4 separate regions of the Homo sapiens genome follow, and regions 1, 2 and 3 are each linked to region 4. The links are contacts of gene promoters, found by promoter capture Hi-C in blood cells and fetal thymus (Javierre and others, 2016). All regions are on one chromosome and are shown on one strand. Each heading gives the region's core, a stretch centred on a gene start or on the middle of the fragment in contact. The rest is flanking DNA. Distances are from core to core; before and after follow the strand shown.

Region 1 (5,056 bases), core at 1,462-3,961, 620 kb after region 4:
AAGGAAAGAAGGAAGGGAGGGAGGGAAAGGAGAGAGAATAGGGATGAGAAGCTCAGCTTGTAGAATTGGCAGGTGATGTTTGCAGTCATTAATCATTTGAGAAGTAGAGAGAGAAGCCAAGCAGGAAATCTTCATACTGGAAAAGAAGTGCTCACCATTAAAAAAAAAAAAAAAAAAAATCCAGTGTGGTTCACAGCTGTAATCCCATCACTTGGAGGCTGAGGCAGGAGAAATACGTGAAGCCAGGAGTTTGAGACCAGCCTGGGCAATATAACAAGACCCACATCTCTACAAAGAGAAAAAAAATGTAAAAAAAAGAAGCTTTAAACCTAAGACGGCAGAATTCAAGACTGTTGTCCTTGAGAACTTCCTGGCTCTGGAAAAAGCTCAGTGAGTTAGTCTCATCCTGTCGTTAGCTCTGTTTTTTAGGGGCTCACTTTGTCTTCACGACAGTACCTTGCACCATTCTCATGGGTATCCCAGGGTGGTGCAAGGCAGTTTTCTGCACTTCCCAGAATGCCCTGTCAGCTGGCTTCTGGGTAGGTTCTGCAAATTGGAGGCCCCTGTGAAAGATCGCTGTGGGGTGGGAGGAAGAAGCTTTATCTGCCTGCTGGCTGCAGGGTAGAGGACTGCAGTGGGGTTATAGGGATCACCACCTGCACATGTGGAGCTTTGAGCGGCTTCACTCTAAGTTTCTGCTCAACAGTGGCAGCCCTGGAGTCCTTCGGGGGCGAGTGTGGGCTCCTGGGCTCCAGGCCAGGGGCAGTCCCAGCTTCCTGATCTCGAGGTAGCGTCTCCTCCCTTTTGCTCCATAGCACCTCGCCCTTCTCAGTGACGTGCCTCCTTCTCAGTCATGCGCCTCCAGCTCTAACAATGTCCTTGAAAACAATTCTTGACCATGCGCCGTGGCTCACGCCTGTAATCCCAACACTTTGGGAGTCTGAGGCAGGCGGATCACTTGAGGTCAGGAGTTTGAGACCAGCCTGGCCAACATGTAATCCCAGCTACTCCCTCCACTTGATTTGTGTTCCTTGAAGAAATTTGCATAATCCCTGTATCTGGTTGGCAGATAGCAGAGATGTAGCCTCAGTCTTTCCTTTAAAAATTTTGCTTTAGGCAGGGCGCGGTGGCTCACACCTATAATCCCAGCACGTTGGGAGGCCAAGGTGGGCAGATCATGAGAGCAGGAATTTGAGATCGGCCTAGCCAATATGGTGAAACCCCGTCTCTACTAAAAATATAAAAATTAGCTGGGCGTGGTGGCACAAGCCTGTAATCCCAGCTATTTGGGAGGCTGAGGCAGGAGAATCGCTTGAATCCAGGAGGCAGAGGTTGAGATGAGCCGAGATCACGCTATTGCACTCCAGCCTGGGCAACAGAGGGATACTCCATCTCAAAAAAAATTTTTTGCTTTAGGGCCAATCGTGGTGACACACGCTTGTAATTCTGGCACTTTGAGAGGCCGAGGCAGGTGGATAATTTGAGGTCAGGGGTTCGAGAGCAGACTGGCCATGATGGTGAAATCCCATCTCTACTAAAAATACAAAAAAAGCCAGGTATGGTGGCATACGCCTGTAATCCCAGCTACTCGGGAGGCTGAAGCAGGAGAATCACTTGAACCCGGGAGGTTTAGGTGGCATTGAGCCGAGATTGCACCACTGCACTCCAGCCTGGGTGACAGAGCGAGACTCCATCTCAAAAAAAAAAAAAAGGGCCGGACGCGGTGGCTCACGCCTTTAATCCCAGCACTTTGGAAGGCCGAGGCGGGTGGATCACCTGAGGTCAGGAGTTCAAGACCAGCCTGGTCAACATGGTGAAACCCCGTCTCTACTAAAAACATTAAAAAATTAGCCGGGCATGGTAGTGGGCGCCTGTAATACCAGCTACTGAGGAGGCTGAGGCAGGAGAATTGCTTGAACCCAGGAGACAGAGGTTGCAGTGACCTGAGATTGTGCCACTACACTCCAGCCTGGGCAACAAAGCAAGACTCTGTCTTAAACAAACAAAAAGCCCAGTGTGGTGGTGTATATTTGTGGTCCTAGCTACTTTGAAGGCTGAGGTGGGAGGATTGCTTGAGTACAACATGTAGAGGCTGCAGTGAGCTGTGATTGTGCCACTGCACCCCAGTGTGGGTGACAGAGCAAGACCCTGTCTCAAAATAATAAAATTAACATTCATTAACAATAATGTTAATATATATGTTAATGTATATGTTAATCGTAATGTTTATATTTTACCATGATAAAAACATTTTAAAATCATATATCAACTCTTGCCGTTCTCCTGTTGAAAACTCTCCAATGACTTCCCACTCCATCATCCTGTGGGATGGGTCCACCATGCTGGACCACAAGGCTCTGCACAATGCGGCTCCCACCAGCCTCTCCCCTTGGCCCAGATTGCTTCCTCCTACCCCTTTCTCTAGCTGCCAGGCCCCCCAACCCCCGCATGGAGCCCTTCAGCAGCTCTGTGAGCTCCCTGCCTGTTGGCAGCCATCACAGCAACGGGCTCTGGTGTGCCCCTTGTTATCCCTGTATTCAGGCCATTATCTGTAATGACAGCCTGGCATAATTTTATTTTCACAATTTGTATAATTATATTCTATTGAGCTAAATGATCATTATAATCATTATTAAATATTTATTAAGCACTTCTAGCTGTGCAAACATAATAAGATGTGGCCTCAGCTCTTAAAATCTTTCTTCCTAATTCCAACCCAAATTCATTTCAACTTAACCAATCTTCCTTCTTGGAGAAGGAGGGAACTTCGGCGTTTTGTCTGGGTTTCCATGCCCGAGCTTATAGGAGCTTCTTAGCAATGCTGTGGAGCAGATGCTATTGACTTCAGTTTACAGATAAGGAAACAATCAGACTGAGGAAGCTAGTATTAATAAGTAGCAGAGATTAAGATTTGCCTGTGGTTCTTTTTTACACAAAGCCTCTCCCACTCCTTTCATGCACTGTTAGCCAAGTTTACTAGAATAGGCAACTTCCTTTTTAAAAAATCCTGTTTACATTTTAGGTGCCAAACACTGTGCTAATCCAGTGGGGGAAACATATGCTCAAAAAGATCACTCTGAGACCAGGCATGGTGGCTCATGCCTGTAATCCCAAGCCTTTGGGAGGATGAGGTCTGAGGACTGCTTGAGGCCAGGAGTTTGAGATGAGCCTGGGCAACATAGTAAGGCCCCTTCTGTACAAAAAATTTAAAAACTAGCCAGGCCTGGTGGCATGTGACTACAGGCTGCAGTAAGCTATGATCGTGCCACTGCACTCCAGCCTGGGTGACAGAATGAGACCCTGTCTCTAAAAACAAAACAAAACTCAAGCAGTATCCTAAGTCAGGGTCCAAGCAGTAATGGAAATGGGTGAAGCTGACAGGCGAGTGATAGAGAATGGAGGGGTCTGTAGCAAACGTGACGACTCTGGCTTACCTAAGAGGGCAGCCAATTTTGCCATGAGGCAATGTGGGATCAGTGAGTGCTGTTCCAGTCTTCAATTTCGATTTATAAGTAAAATCTCCAATATTTTATATGTTGGCAACTTTGGCATTCCTTTCCTTAAACCTCACTGCCACCCCGCACCCCAATTCATTTCAGTAGGGATCAGATAGCCAACATCCTTATAAAATCAAAAGTATACAGGCCGGGTGCAGTGGCTCACACCTATAATCCCAGCACTTTGGGAGGCCGAGGCAGGCGGATCACGAGGTCAGGAGATCGAGACCATCCTGGCTAACATGGTGAAACCCCGTCTCTACTAAAAATACAAAAAAAAAATTAGCCGGGCGTGGTGGCAGGCGCCTGTAGTCTTAGCTACTTGGGAGGCTGAGGCAGGAGAATGTTGTGAACCCGGGAGGCGGAGCTTGCAGTGAGCTGAGATCACGCCACTGCACTCCAGCCTGGGTGACAGAGCGAGACTCCATATCCCAAAAGAAAAAAAAAAAAAAGATACAAATCTTAATTGGCATAAACCAGTCCTAGTAATATCATGCCCTTTGGCCAGTCGTTGGTCACAGGGTGAGCTAATGACCCAACTCTGACAAATTACATGTAAGAGGAATACTGCTAAAAAGATATTTTCGGCCAGGCGTGGGGGCTCACACCTGTAATCCCAGTACTTTGGGAGGCCGAGGCGGGCAGATCACTTGAGGTCAGGAGTTTGAGACCAGCCTTGGCAACATGGTGAAACCCCATTTCTACTAAAAATACAAAAATTAGCCGGGCATGCTGGTGGGTACCTGTAATCTCAGCTACTCGGGAGGCTGAGGCACAAGAGTCACTTGAACCCAAGAGGCACAGGTTGCAGTGAACCAAGATCATGCCACGGCACTCCAGCCTGGGCGATACAGTGAGACTCAGTCTCAAAAAAAAAAAAAAAAAAAAGAGTATCTTTTCTTCAGTAAAAAGACAAAGCTGTTTGGGTGCAGTGGCTCACACCTGTAAGGAGAATTGCTTGAACCCAGGAGGTAGAGGTTGTAGTGAGCTGAAATCATACCACTGCACTCCAGCCTGGGCGACAGAGCAAGACACTGTCTCAAAAAAAAAAAAAAAAAAAAAAGACAAAGCCTTGAGGGCTGAGGAAGAAATGTGGAAACTGCCCTTTCCCTTTGTTCTTGTCTAATGCAGTCACAAAGTCTGGAGCAGTAGCAGCCATTTTTCAACCATGAGGCAGTAAGCATGAAGCCTAAAACCAGCATGCCAAGAAGGACAAAGCAGAAAGACTGAAATCTCTAAGGCCCTTGCAGACACCCTTACTGCATCAGTTCCAGACTTGGCTCCCATAGCTCCAGATGTGGCCATGGCCACTGTATATGTAAGCTTGATGGAATAAGCACTAATGCGGCACCTTAGAGCTGCTGGAAAAGAGACCAATGGACATGTACGAATGGGGGATCCTGCCATTTGCCGAGTAAAGGCCTCCTGTGTAGAAGGTGTCCTTTGATAAGCATTCACATGGAATACAAATCTCCACTCATCTCTCCCCAATCCAAAAGGTTCATCCACACCCCCTCTCCAGACCTTCTTGTCTTTCTGTCTCCAAACATGTTCTTTCC
Region 2 (5,098 bases), core at 701-3,200, 660 kb after region 4:
AGAACCACCACACCTGGCCACAATAGTATATTTTTGTAGCAAAATGATCCAGTTCAGAATCACGCATAATACTTAGTTGTCACGTCTCTTTAGTCTTCTTTAACCTGGAAAGGTTTCTCAGGCTTTCCTTGATTTTCATGACCTCAGTGCTTTTGAAGGTCACAGGCTAGTGGTCGTGCAGAATGTCCCCATTTTGGTTTGTCTGTGGTTTCATCAAGATTAGACGCAGGGCATGCGTCCTTGGCGGGAACACCACAGGCATGTTGCTGGGCTCTCCTAGTTCCATCCTGTCAGGATATTTCCAGCCACTTATATTTGTCCTATTCGCACTGATGTTCAGTTTGATCTGAATCCTCTTTACCTGGTTCAGAAAAAGAAGGAAAGGGGCTGGGCATGGTGACTCCTGCCTATGATCCCAGTACTTTGGGAGGCTGAGGCCAGAGGATTGCTTGAGCCCAGGAGTTTGAGACTAGCCTGGGCAACATGGCAAAACCCTGTCTCTACCAAACAAAAATTAGCCGTGCCACGTGATGGCATGTGCTTGTAGTCCCAGCTACTTGATGTGATGAGGTTGGAGGATTGCCTGAACTTGGGAGTTGAGGCTGCAGTGAGCTGAGATTGCACCACTGCCCTCCGGGTGACAGATCAAGATTCTATCTAAAAAAAAAAAAAAAAAAAAAAAGAAGAAGAAGAAGAAATTGCAAAGGTATGGGTAATTGTGATTTTAAAAACTCCCAAACCCTCCATTTGATTTGTGTTCTTTGAAAAAATTTGCATAATCCCTGTAGCCTCAGTCTTTCCTTTAAAACTTTTGCTTTAACTCTGTTGTATTTAGGACATACAAAAGGTATAAAGAGGCCAGGCATAGTGACTTACGCCTGTAATCCCAACACTTTGGGAAGCAGGGGCGGGTGGATCACCTGAGGTCAGGAGTTCGAGACCAGCCTGACCAACATGGTGAAAATCCATCTCTACTAAAAAACAAAATACAAAAATTAGCCGGGTGTGGTGGCAGATGCCTGTAATCCCAGCTACTTGGGAGACTGAGGCAGGAGAATCCCTTGAACCATGGGGTCAGGGGTTGCAGTGAGCCGAGATCGTACAAAAACCAAAAGGTATAAAACCACGCATCAAAACCAAAAGGTATAAAGAATAAGGCAACTTGAATTATAATACAATAACTTGATATGTAATATACAACATATATTTCCAGTTGGATTACTAGATATTGTCTGTAACATATAAAATATATAATACAATATGATGTAATATATAATAACTTGAATTCTTAAGTAACCCAGTTCGAGAATAAGCCACTGCCAATTTAGTTAAATCTCGCTTGTGAATTCCCCCCCAGCTTCAGCCTACTCTCGATTTGCCCAGAACTCACTGACCTAAGCTCCACTGACAAAGTGACAGAAAAAATCCTGGGTTTCAGAAGCAATTTGAGGCAATTAGATGCAAATTCAGCCCAGATGAGGACGTTTGTTTTTCTAGTGTGGCTACCTAGCTTGTTCCGGCACCTGGTGGTCACACATGGAACTGCAGCTTCTCATACGTGATCCTTTTCGAATTTTTTTCCTTTCGAATCCTTTCTTTTCTTGAACTTTATTTTGTAACGTAAAATCTGATTTGCTTAAGTTGGACTTATCATAATTTTCTTTTAAAAGCTTTCTGGTTCTAACAGTGACTGCCCTGCATCGGTGAAAACACTTGGTTAAGCATTAACTGCTCAATTATCACAATTAATCTTTTGATATAATTTCTTGGTGTGTATGTGTGTTTGTGTACATAATTTTCCATTATTAATTCAAAAATGAATTGCTAATATATACTAGGTACTGAGGCAGATGCTGGTACAAAGTAAGAATAATCAGGATGGCTAATTAAAGTAATGCTTCTAATTATACCCCATGAAACAAGAAACTTCATTTATCTACAAAGGAAGGAAACCTGTCAGTAAATACTATTTATTGATCACCTATTATGTATCAGGTAACATGTTCCTTCCCAGAATATGTCACAGAGCACGTGCACTGTTTGAAATGTATTAAATGGTAAATGACAGTCATTAGTAGGCTGCTTTTGATGATCATTCTTGAGGCGTCTTTGGATGTTAAATTCATTGATGAAAGTTTGATGAACAGTCTACTTTGTTATCTCAAAGTATCATACAAATTACTTATTAATTACAGAGAAAAAAATAGGAACTTTACAGTGGAGAAGCTTGGCACCCTTCACCTTAACCAAGCAACCAATGTTACCATTACAAACAATGGGACAAACCCACATCATTTGCCTCCTGATATAATGCACCAAGGATGCCGCACCAAGGATGCCATCACTTCTGAGGTATTTTTGCAAAACATACATAACCTGAATCTAATCATGAGAAAGCATCATACAAACTCAAATTGAGGAACATTCTACAAAGTAGCTGGCCTGTATTCTTCCAACATATTAGAGTTGCTAACCTAAAAAAGACATCAGAGAAAGATGTCTCCTAATATAATTAATTTATTCAGGAGCAGGCAAAAAGGATGGTGCACCTGGCTATATGGCTATGGCAAGCCACAGGTGCACCTGAATAGGGCAGGGGTAAGTGGGAGCTCTTATTGGCCAAAAGTAGAAGTTCACATAAGCTGTCTGGAAACAGGTTTCTTTGGTTCTGGAGGCTCAAAGCCGGAGCGGCATCAATTTATTTTTGGAGATGCCGCTACTAGGCAAGTGTTCTTTGGAGAGCATCTTATTTGAATTGCTGTCGTCCGAAAGAATGCCTAGTGCTAAGCCTGGTCACAGAAATAACAGGGTGGCGCATGCCTGGAGTCCCAGCTACTCTAGAGGCTGAGGCAGGAGGACCGATTGAGCCCAGGAATTTGAGTCCGGTCTGGGCAGCACAGCAAGATCCCTGCCTCTAAATCAATAAATGTGTGCACATGTGCAAAACGTAGGTGGAGAAACGCATGAGACTTGTGACGTACATGAGGAATTCCTTGTGTGGTTATTATAGAAAGTCCTTGAGACAGTTCTTATCTCAAACATCAGCCGTCCTTTGTGCATTCCTGGCTTGGTGTGCTTGGGTCTGAGTAGAGTTGTCTCATCCTGGTAGCTGCAAGTTTCACAAAGACATGAAAGAGGAAGAAAGACTGAGACCCTGTTCTAGATAAAAGGATACTAAAAAAAGATTTGACAACTAATTGAAACAGTATGATTCTGGACAGAGGGGAAATAGCTATAAAGGACATAATTGGCACAGAGAGAGAGAGGAAGAATGTGAAAATGAGGCAAAAATGTAAAAATTGGTGATTATGGATAAAGGATATAATCACGATTCTTATTACAATGCGTGTCAATTTTGTGAATTTAAAAGTATACATATAAAGTACATATATAGTAATACATATAAATATAAACACCCCAAAAAGTGTTCCCGAAAGTAACAAGCTCTTTGAGAATAACTGATCTCTTTAAAAATGATTTATGTTTCATTATAAAATCAATGTATGTATGCTTAAAGAAAAAAAATGAGACAATATAGAAAAGTAAAAAGAAAACTCATCAGTCTCTGACACATGTCACAGCCCACAGCTACCTGGGAAGGCTGAAGAGTGCAATTTCAGCAGAATGTCAGGGGAGGAGCAGGATTGTACTAGGTGGAGAATATTCTAGACTGAAGGAACACCACAGAAAAGACAAGAAAGCGTGGAAGGGCGTGGCTTGAGGAAAAAGGTCGGGAAACTGGGGGTTGAAGAATGAACAGGTGAGATGGGTAAGGACTTCCAGAGAAGAATGACTACTGGGCTGGGGGGGGGTGACATCTGGGCCAGTCACAATTCTCCTCACGTGTCGCCTTCCACAATGCCAGGCACGCGCCTGGGGTTGAATACATATTTCTGGGCTGAATAACCGAATGTACAAAAGGCAGGCCCTAAATTTCCTCTCCGCCCCTTAGCGTGCCCCGCAGCGACATCGTCACAAGCGCGCGGCTTTTGGTCCCCGCCCTGGGCCTCAGGGCCTCGGGGCCGCGCGCGGGGCGTGGTCAGCCGGAGCTGTGACGCACCCGGGACGCAAGCCGAGGGCTCGGTTTCCACGGCAACAGGCGCTGGGCCCCTGTTTTTCCGCTCGCGCTCGTGCGTCACTTCCGGTCGCTCCCCTCTTTTTTTCAGCCTTGTGTAGGATAGGTTCCGATTGGGACCAACGTCGGGGTGGGAGTGGTACTGGGGAAGGGCTGTCCAAAATGAATCTTCGGTTCTGCGTGAAGAGCCGGGTGTCAGGCAGGTGGAGCTTGGCTTCCGTCCCCTAAGCCAATCGCTTTCCAATCCGTCCCCTAGGCGCTGCGGGAAATTGATGCCTCAGCTACCGGCGCTGGAGCATGCGCACTGCTACCGGAGGCGCCTCTGGGAAATCCAGTGCTCCGGGATTTCCACGCAGCCGGAGGGAATCCAGAGGGGCGAGTGATGGGCGTGGCATCAGGGGGCAGGGCGTACGAGTCACAGTGTTGATTGGCCGGTGAGAGGCCCGGGCGTGGAGCGGCAGCGGACCCCTGTGGCGGGCTCTGGCGTTTCATTCATTCGTTCATTCATTGAATGAACTGATTCACTCCATGTTTACTGAGTATACGCTGTGTCAGAGCTTGTGTAGGCGCTGGGGATTCAGAGCCGAGTCGGACACAGCCCCTGTCCTTAAGGAGCCCACGCTTCGACTGAAACCGCGGCGTCCCTGCCTTTCTTCGTTTGCACCTTATCTCCTCTCTTCTCTCAAGGCTGGTGTCCTTGCAGAAGGCGGCGACGCTCAGCCCATCTTACCTCAGGGACCCTCTCCGAGGCTTCCACACTTCTGAAAGCAGCTGTTGAACACGGAAAGGCCTGGCGTGGAATCCTGGCTAGCGCTCAATCACTGAGCCGCTTCACCCACTTTACATTCACCTCTGAAAGCATGATGCAGGCGTCCCCAACTTAGGGTGGCTCGACTTAGGGGATTTTTCAACTTTGCGATGGGCTTATCGGGAAGCAACCCATCATAAATCGAGGAGCATCTGTATAGTTATCTTGCAGAGGGCAGTGAGGTTTAAAATGAGCTTTGGTGCTTATCTTGAGGT
Region 3 (4,733 bases), core at 311-2,810, 530 kb after region 4:
GAGACTACGCTGGGAAAATGGGCTCACTGCAGATCTTGCATTGGGTACTTTTTAAATCTCTCTGGGCATCTGTTAAATGGCATAATGACTATCTGTGCTTACATCTTAAGCTTCTATTTTGCTTTTTTGTTTGTTTGAGATGGAGTTTTGCTCTTGTTGCCCAGGCTGGAGTGCAATGGTGCCATCTCAGCTCACTGCAACCTCCGCCTCCAGGGTTCAGGTGATTATCCCATCTCAGCCTCCCGAGTAGCTGGAATTACAGGCATGCGCCACCGTGCCCGGCTAATTTTGTATTTTTAGTAGAGACGGGGTTTCACCATGTTGGTCAGGCTGGTCTCGAACTCCCGACCTCAGATGGTCTACCCGCCTTGGCCTCCCAAAATGCTGGGATTACAGGGCATGAGCCACCACACCCAGCCAGCTTCTGTTTTCTTTAACTTAGGGATATATCAGAGAAAAATAGAATGATGTATCCAATATTCATCCTTCTCCCAGAGTTTGTTCATTTTTTAAAAATAATTTAGTTTTAAATAACAAATATAATAAACCTACTTAAAAAATACAGAAGCACAGGCCATGTGCAGTGGCTCACGCTGTAATCCCAACACTTTGGGAGGCCGAGGCAGGAGGATCGCTTGAACCCAAGAGTTTGAGACCAGTCTGGACAACACAGGAGGGCTCCATCTCTATAATATGTGTGTATGTGTGTGTGTGTATATATATATAATATATATATTATATAATATATATAATTTATATATATTATATATAAAATATATATTATATAATTTATATACATAATATATATTATATAATACATAATATATATAATTATATATTATATAATATACAATTGTATATAATATAAATATAATATATACAATTGTATATAATATAAATATAATATATACAATTGTATATAATATAATTGTATATACAATTGTATATAATATAATTGTATATACAATTATATATAATATATAACATTTACATATTATATAATATAATATTTATATATAATTATATATATTTTATATGCCAGGCTATATATATAATATATATAGCCTGGCATATAAATAATATATATATAATATATATATATATTATATATATAGCCTGGCATGATGGCACACGCCTGTAGTCCCAGCTATTTGGGAGGCTGGGACAGGAGGATCACTTGAGCCCTATGATCGCACCACTGCACTTCAGCTTCGGCAACAGAGTGAGATTCTGTCTCATAAGATAAAATAATAAATAAAATAAGATATAAAACGAATAAATAGAAGCATAGAGAAGAGTGGAAAGACTATAGCTTGACCACTCAGGAATAATCACGATAAATATTTTGTTTTATAATTCTTCCTTAAGTTTTCCCTTTCATACCCCAAATGTGTATGTGTGCATAATATAGGACAGATGGGATTGCATCAAACACCATTCTGAAGCTTTTTCCCACTTACAAGTACATGGAGCTCTTGCCGTGTGATCAATGGAGAAGCAGTGTCACTGAACTGTCCTCACAGTTCATTTAACCCATTTTCTCCTGATGGACCTTTCAGTCCTTCTCAGTCTTTTCGTGTGTAGACGCCTGGGTATTTCCTTAGGACAAATGCCTAGGTGTTGAGTTACCAGATCAAAAGGCTTGTAATTTTAAAAGCCTTCTGAAACAAGCTTGAAATCTCCCCACATGGATGGGAGTGGCCATTTTTTCTCATGCACTATCCAGTCATATCCCTCACCATTTCCTGTTGGAGTTTTTGATTTCATTAGTTTATATAAACTCTGTATATGTACGTTTATACCTTTAGGTTTGTGTATTTATGATGTCATAAAAATTTCCCAGTTTGTCATGCAATTAGAGAAATACACACACACACACACACACACACACACAGTTTTTTTCTTTCCGTCGAGACGGGTTCTCACTGTGTCAGCCAGGCTGGAGGGCAGAGGTGTGATCTCGGATCACTGCAGCCTTGACCTCCCCAGGCTCAAGTGATCCTCCCATCTCAGCACCCCCGAGTAGCTGGGACTACAGAGGCATGCCACCATGACTGGCTAATTTTCTATTTATTTTTATTTTTTATTTTTTTTTGTACAGATGGGATTTTGCCATGTTTCCCAGGCTAGTCTCGAACTTGTGGCCTCAAGTGATCCACCTGCCCCGGCCTCCCAAAGTGCTGAGATTACAGGTGTTAGACACCACACCCAGCCAAAAATCATCCTTTTGCAACCTCTTTTTGGTTCTAAGAAAGAGGGCCGGGCACGGTGGCTCATGCCTGTAATCCCAGAAAGAGCATTCCCACCCCAAAACTATAAAAGGTTATTAAATTTTAAAATATTTCTGTGGATATTTTTGTTCCATTTAAAAATACTATCTATTTACAGTTTCTATTTGAAATTTATTTTGTAATAGGATGTGAGAGGGAGCTCACCTTATTTTTTTCCTTCAAATATTCAGAAAATTGTTCCGACTGAGTTATTTCTCTCCTGTCCCCTTAACTGGCAAGCCCCCTCCAGCCAACCCGAGTGCTGCCAGTGGCTTGCCTGCCCATTCAGGGAGATGGTGATGGTTTTCCTCCCTGCCCTCTTCTGAAGACGAGCGCCCTGAGAGCAGGAGTAGGAGGTGCTCAGGCAGTGTAGGGTGAGTGGCATCGTGCGTTGAGGTAGAGTTTAGGAAACCCTTAGTGCAGGGCTTGGCACCGGCAGACCTCACTGGTGGGCAGGTATTCCTGTGCTCGCAGATGGAACTGAGTGAACCTGGTGAGGATGGATTGTCACGCATTTGGTTCCTCCAGCTCCTTTTGTTTGATTTAAGCATAGTTGTTATCGATTCAAGGCAGCGTGGCTTGGTGGCAAGGCTTGTGTGCTCTGGTAGCCGTGAGTGCTGTGTGTGAATCCCAGCTCTGCCTGTCAGACACCTCGGACCACATCTGTAGGATGGGGATCCTGCCTGCCTTGCCCGTGGTAAGGATTAAAGGAGCTGATTTGCCTGAAGGGGTCTGCATTGTACCTGACACAATGGTGGTGGCCATTGCTTCTTCAATTATGGGAACTTATGTTAAAAAGGGAAGTAAACATTTTATGTAAATATTGAGAAAAGTACTAGGTATCTAGGATGAATCAGTTACTGTAAAAGGGCACAAAGTTTTTTTTTTTTTTTTTTTTTAACTTTCCTAGCTGCTTAGCACAGATACGAGGCATGAGGGTGGCAGATCAGTGTATGTCGGCCGGGCACAGTGGCTCACACCTGTAATCCCAGCACTTTGGGAGGCCGAGGCGGGTGGATCACCTGAGGTCAGGAGTTTGAGACCAGCCTGGCCAACATGGTGAAACCCCGTCCCTACTAAAAATACAAGCATTAGCTGGGTATGGTGATGCACGCCTGTAATCCCAGCTACTCGGGAGGCTGAGGTGGGAGAATCACTTGAACCCAGGAGGCAGAGGTTGCAGTGAGCTGAGATCACGCCACTGCACTCCAGCCTGGGCGGCAGCGAGACTCCATCTCAAAAAAAAAGTTTTGGTCTATTTTTATTGATACGTAATAGGTGTATATATTTTCAGGGAACATACATGTGTTAGGTAGGTCAGATTCTTGTATGTTTTGGGTGAAAAAAGGATTCAGTTTGGAGAACAAGACTCTTTCTGAAGTACAAGAGATGTCACATGGACCCTCATCAGGGCGGTCAGCTGATTTGATGGCTGATGTTGGTGGAGGGGCAAACTGGAAATCACAGTCCTAGCCCTGTGGTCTGCTGCCCAGGTGCCCTGGCTGTCACCTCACCCCATGGAGCTCCTGGCTCCTCAGCTGTGCAATGAAGACAAGTCCAAGAGCGAGGACATGAGAAGAGACAAGAATGTGCTGGAAGTCTTGTACTGGAGTAATGTTGATGCTGGAGAAATGTTGGCTTCTTAGTTGAAACAGGCTGGGTGCTGTGGTGCATGCCTGGAATCTCAGCACTTTGGGAGGCCAAGGCAGGAGGATCACTTGAGGCCAGGAGTTTGAGACCAGCCTGGGTGACATAGCAAGACCCCTGTCTCTACTAAAAAGGATAAAATATAAAATAAACAAACAAACAGTAAAGACTATTTGTAAAAGGTAGAGTAATAGCCTTCCTATGGATACCTTATGGTTTTGTCCTAAAAACACTTGGGATTGAGTCATAAACCCATAAGGCATTTTTACTAAGAGTTGGTGTAACAAGAAGATATTCTTTTATTCATCTGTGTATTCATTCAGTCAACAGTTGCACAAAAACAGACACAGTCCTTGCTATATTGCAGTGCCTACATTCTAGTGGGAGAGGCAGATACAGAGTCGGAATCACAAAAGAAATCTAGAGTTGAAACCAGAAAAGGCTGTAGAGAAGAGTCAGAGAAATGTACGCATAAGGCATTCTTCATGTCTCCACTGAGAGGTGTCAGGCTTCGAGCAGCCCTGGACCAGCGTGCGGGTCTGTCTTGGTAGGGCCGGTGGTTGAGATGCTGTGGTCTCATCAGTTGCCCCGATTGGGGAATGTTTCTGTAGGAGATAACTTACATTTTACCAGTATTCCTTTAATTCCTCTTTGTCTTTATTATAGTATTTTTTTTTTTTTTGAGACAGAGTTTTGCTCTTGTTGCTCAGGCAGGAGTACAAGGGTGCGATCTCAGTTCACTGCAACCTTCACCTCCCGGGTTCAAGTGATTCTCCTGCCTCAGCCTCCCAAATAGCTGGGACTGCAGGTGCCTGC
Region 4 (2,700 bases), core at 201-2,700:
TCTGGCAAATTCGAGGTAGGGAGACAAATCAATCGATGACGTTGCGAGGAGACAGAGGTCAAACGGGATCTACTGACATGACAGGGCGTTGAAGGGAAGGAAAAGTTGAGGGAAACGAGGAAACTATTTCCATAGGAGAATGCTTTTTCACTGAAGTCGAAACTGGCTTGGTACTGACGCCCAGCAGGGGAAACTCCCCGGACACTCACAGACATTCATCTGGTTACTTGCAGGAACATCTGCCTTTCCTGGTGACACCCTCTGCCCTGCAGTCTTCATTTTCCCTGGATAGCCCAGCGTCATTTAAATACTCAGAAGCCTCTCTGCCTTTCTATGCTGTTGTCTGCAAAGAGATGAACGGACCTGTGCAGACGGCTGGCCAGTGACGCCGGGATCTCTAGGTAACATGACCCAGTCACGGTGTCACAGACAGGCGGACCAGGAGGAAACCAGAGACACAGATGGATTCCAGGGAAAGCCAGCGTTACAGAATTAAGAAAAGCTGGGGAAGAAAAAGGAAAACGAGAATTTCCAAAACTGCCGCTTTCCCAGCAGAAGGGAGATGAAGTTGTCACTTTGGCTGCGAGGGTGCAGAGATGGAGGAAGGGTTGGGGGTGGGGGTGGTACCGCAAGGGAGAAAAATAGCTATAGGCTTCATCGCAAAGGGGTTCATGCAGAATACGCGAGGCCGGCGGCTAACTCTAAGATTGCTCTCTCGTTATTCTGTGCCTGGTGCAAAACCCACTACTCAGGGGACAACACATCCCAGCATAAAGAATGAAATCATTTCAGCAGCGAGGGCTGGGCCCGCTAGACCGTGAGGCTCCGGCGGCTTCCGCCCGTTGTCTGGTGCACCCCACCTTCAGAAGCACCTGCCCAAGATGGGAGCGACTGAAGAGAGAGGCCCCAGAGACTCTCCGAGGGGCGGCACCCCCAGATTCCCGGCCGGCGGACCAAGTTCGCAGCTCTCAAAAGACATGTCTCACACCAAGGGCCCCGGGCGGGGAGAGGAGAGAAGAGGGGAGGGGAGCAGGGCGCTGCTCCAGGGCACCTGCCTGAGCTCGGGCGCGATCCCCGGCCACAGGCGCGCGGGGTCACCGCCGGGGGACCGGGACTCAGCCCTCGGAAAGTCCGCGCCAACCCACAGGGCACCCGGGCGCCCGCTCTCCGACTGCTGTCCCGGCTGCCGACTCGTGGCCCACGTCCGCCTCAGTTTCCCCGCCCCTCACCTGCTCGAGACTTCGGAGACTGTCCCGGGGGGCGCCCAGCAGCGCGCAGAGCTCCAGCAGCCCCGAGGGCAGCGACAAGTGCGGCGACGCGGCCTCCGCCATGGCTGCCCGCCGCCCGCCGCCAGTACCGCACTCGGGCGCCTCAGCCGCGCAGTCGCCCGCAGACCCCTGGGGACCAGCCGCGCCGCCTGGGGGCCGGGGGCGCTGCGAGCGCCGTCTGCGGGGCGGGGCTGGAGGCGGGGCCTGGAGGGGCGGGGCCCGAGCCGAGGCGGGGCCTGGAGAGCCCCAGAGGATACCGCGGGGAGACAGAGTTTGGGGGCGGGGCTTGACTGGGCGGGGAGGTTCTGGGCGGGGCCTGGAGTGGCGTGCCCGGCCCTAGGGACCGGGACTTGGGGGCGGGGCCGGTCCTAGGGCGGGTGCTGCTGGAGACCCGCGCGCGGTCGTCATTTCCTAACCCGCCTGCGGGCCCTGGCGCGTGCGCGGCGTCGGAGCAAGCGGCCCCTTCCTTCGGCCCCGCCCAGCCCCGCCGGCCGCCCGCTCCCTGGGGAACCGAGGGAGGAATGGGCGGGGTCCTCAGGTGCCCGGCGACGTCATCCAGCCCCCAAGGCTCCAGGACGCAAAGGGTCCCCTGATCTGGCAGTCCCTGGACCTACCCTGGAGAGCGTGGGGGGACAAAGGCCGGACGCGCCGCCCGCTGCCGCCTCCAGGAAGCCCTCCCTTGCCAGGACAGTGGAGTTGGCCGGGTGTGGACAGCAGGAAGGGCCGGCGGGAAGGGGGGGTGGAAAGAGCCACTCCTGGTTAATAACTCTGCGGGGTTAACCTAGGGCCGGCCATACTCAAGTACGGACTTGAGTAAAATTCAGCAGGAAAAGGAGCAGGGTGGGCGCCGCTAGAGGGAGGCTTCAGGACTGAGGGTCAGAGGCCCAAGGCCTGGCAGGGCCCTTCCCTGGTCAGCTCCAGGCTTGGCCTGATGCCCGGTGGGCCACGGGCCTCTTCCAGCCTCAGGCTGACCCCAGAGAAAGAGGACAGCCCACAAGCCCGGGAGGCCGGCTTGCTGCCTGGTCATTGCTGCAGAGCCTGGAGGGGGCCTGCGCTCAGTCCCCGCTGACCGTCCCCTCCCTTGACCCTGCCATAGCCATCTGTGTAACCCAGGGGAAATTATTCCAAAGGGACTTCCACTTCTGATAATCTATGATTCTATTTTCTAAAAAACAAAACTCTAAAATGCTTAATGTCAAACATCTGTCATCAGCTGAACAGGAAAAGGAACAGTAAGTACAAAGCAAGGCAACATCAGAAAAGGGAGCCCTGAGGAATTTCTCCCTCCTTCCCTGAGCCGGGTGAGGCCGTGACTGCAGCCTGACTCACAGGTTTTATTTCACTTATTAACCTAAAGATGGTGAGGATCTGCTGGTTCTCCCCCAGGCCTGGAGGCTGCCTACCATCGGTGGCTCTCATCGGTGAGCTGAGG

What was found. Contacts are between HindIII fragments. The CHiCAGO score rates a contact against its expected background, and 5 or more counts as called.
Region 1: a fragment that was not itself captured here is called in contact with the fragment with the promoter of DENND3 in region 4 in 2 of 17 cell types (M1 macrophages and neutrophils); the score reaches 5.5 in M1 macrophages.
Region 2: a fragment that was not itself captured here is called in contact with the fragment with the promoter of DENND3 in region 4 in 4 of 17 cell types (M0 macrophages, naive CD4 T cells, naive CD8 T cells and 1 more); the score reaches 5.6 in M0 macrophages.
Region 3: a fragment that was not itself captured here is called in contact with the fragment with the promoter of DENND3 in region 4 in 1 of 17 cell types (total B cells); the score reaches 7.1 in total B cells.

Annotation. Positions count from the first base shown.
Region 1 is chr8:140,503,017-140,508,072 of GRCh38, reverse strand. No RefSeq gene overlaps it. Among named protein-coding and RNA genes, the nearest start is that of CHRAC1, 5.8 kb to the left of the region's middle. RefSeq lists a silencer at 4,677-4,877. The HindIII fragment of the contact is 4,223 bases long and covers 600-4,822 here.
Region 2 is chr8:140,463,796-140,468,893 of GRCh38, reverse strand. LOC105375782 (a long non-coding RNA gene) reads right to left here and starts at 4,023. Exons shown (of 2, transcript XR_928707.3): 1 at 3,844-4,023; 2 at 1,955-3,109. RefSeq lists a silencer at 3,000-3,099 and an enhancer at 3,596-4,795. The HindIII fragment of the contact is 556 bases long and covers 1,673-2,228 here.
Region 3 is chr8:140,591,987-140,596,719 of GRCh38, reverse strand. The region is part of intron 1 of AGO2 (argonaute RISC catalytic component 2); the gene reads left to right. Among named protein-coding and RNA genes, the nearest start is that of ERICD, 40 kb to the left of the region's middle. RefSeq lists enhancers at 2,899-2,948, 2,745-3,245. The HindIII fragment of the contact is 226 bases long and covers 1,448-1,673 here.
Region 4 is chr8:141,127,339-141,130,038 of GRCh38, reverse strand. It overlaps DENND3 (DENN domain containing 3), which reads right to left and starts at 1,450. Exons shown (of 23, transcript NM_001352890.3): 1 at 1,230-1,450. The coding sequence starts at 1,331. It overlaps DENND3-AS1 (DENND3 antisense RNA 1), which reads left to right. Exons shown (of 2, transcript NR_183310.1): 1 at 1-15. RefSeq lists enhancers at 359-1,189, 2,023-2,700 and a silencer at 1,045-1,904. The HindIII fragment of the contact is 7,380 bases long and covers 1-2,700 here.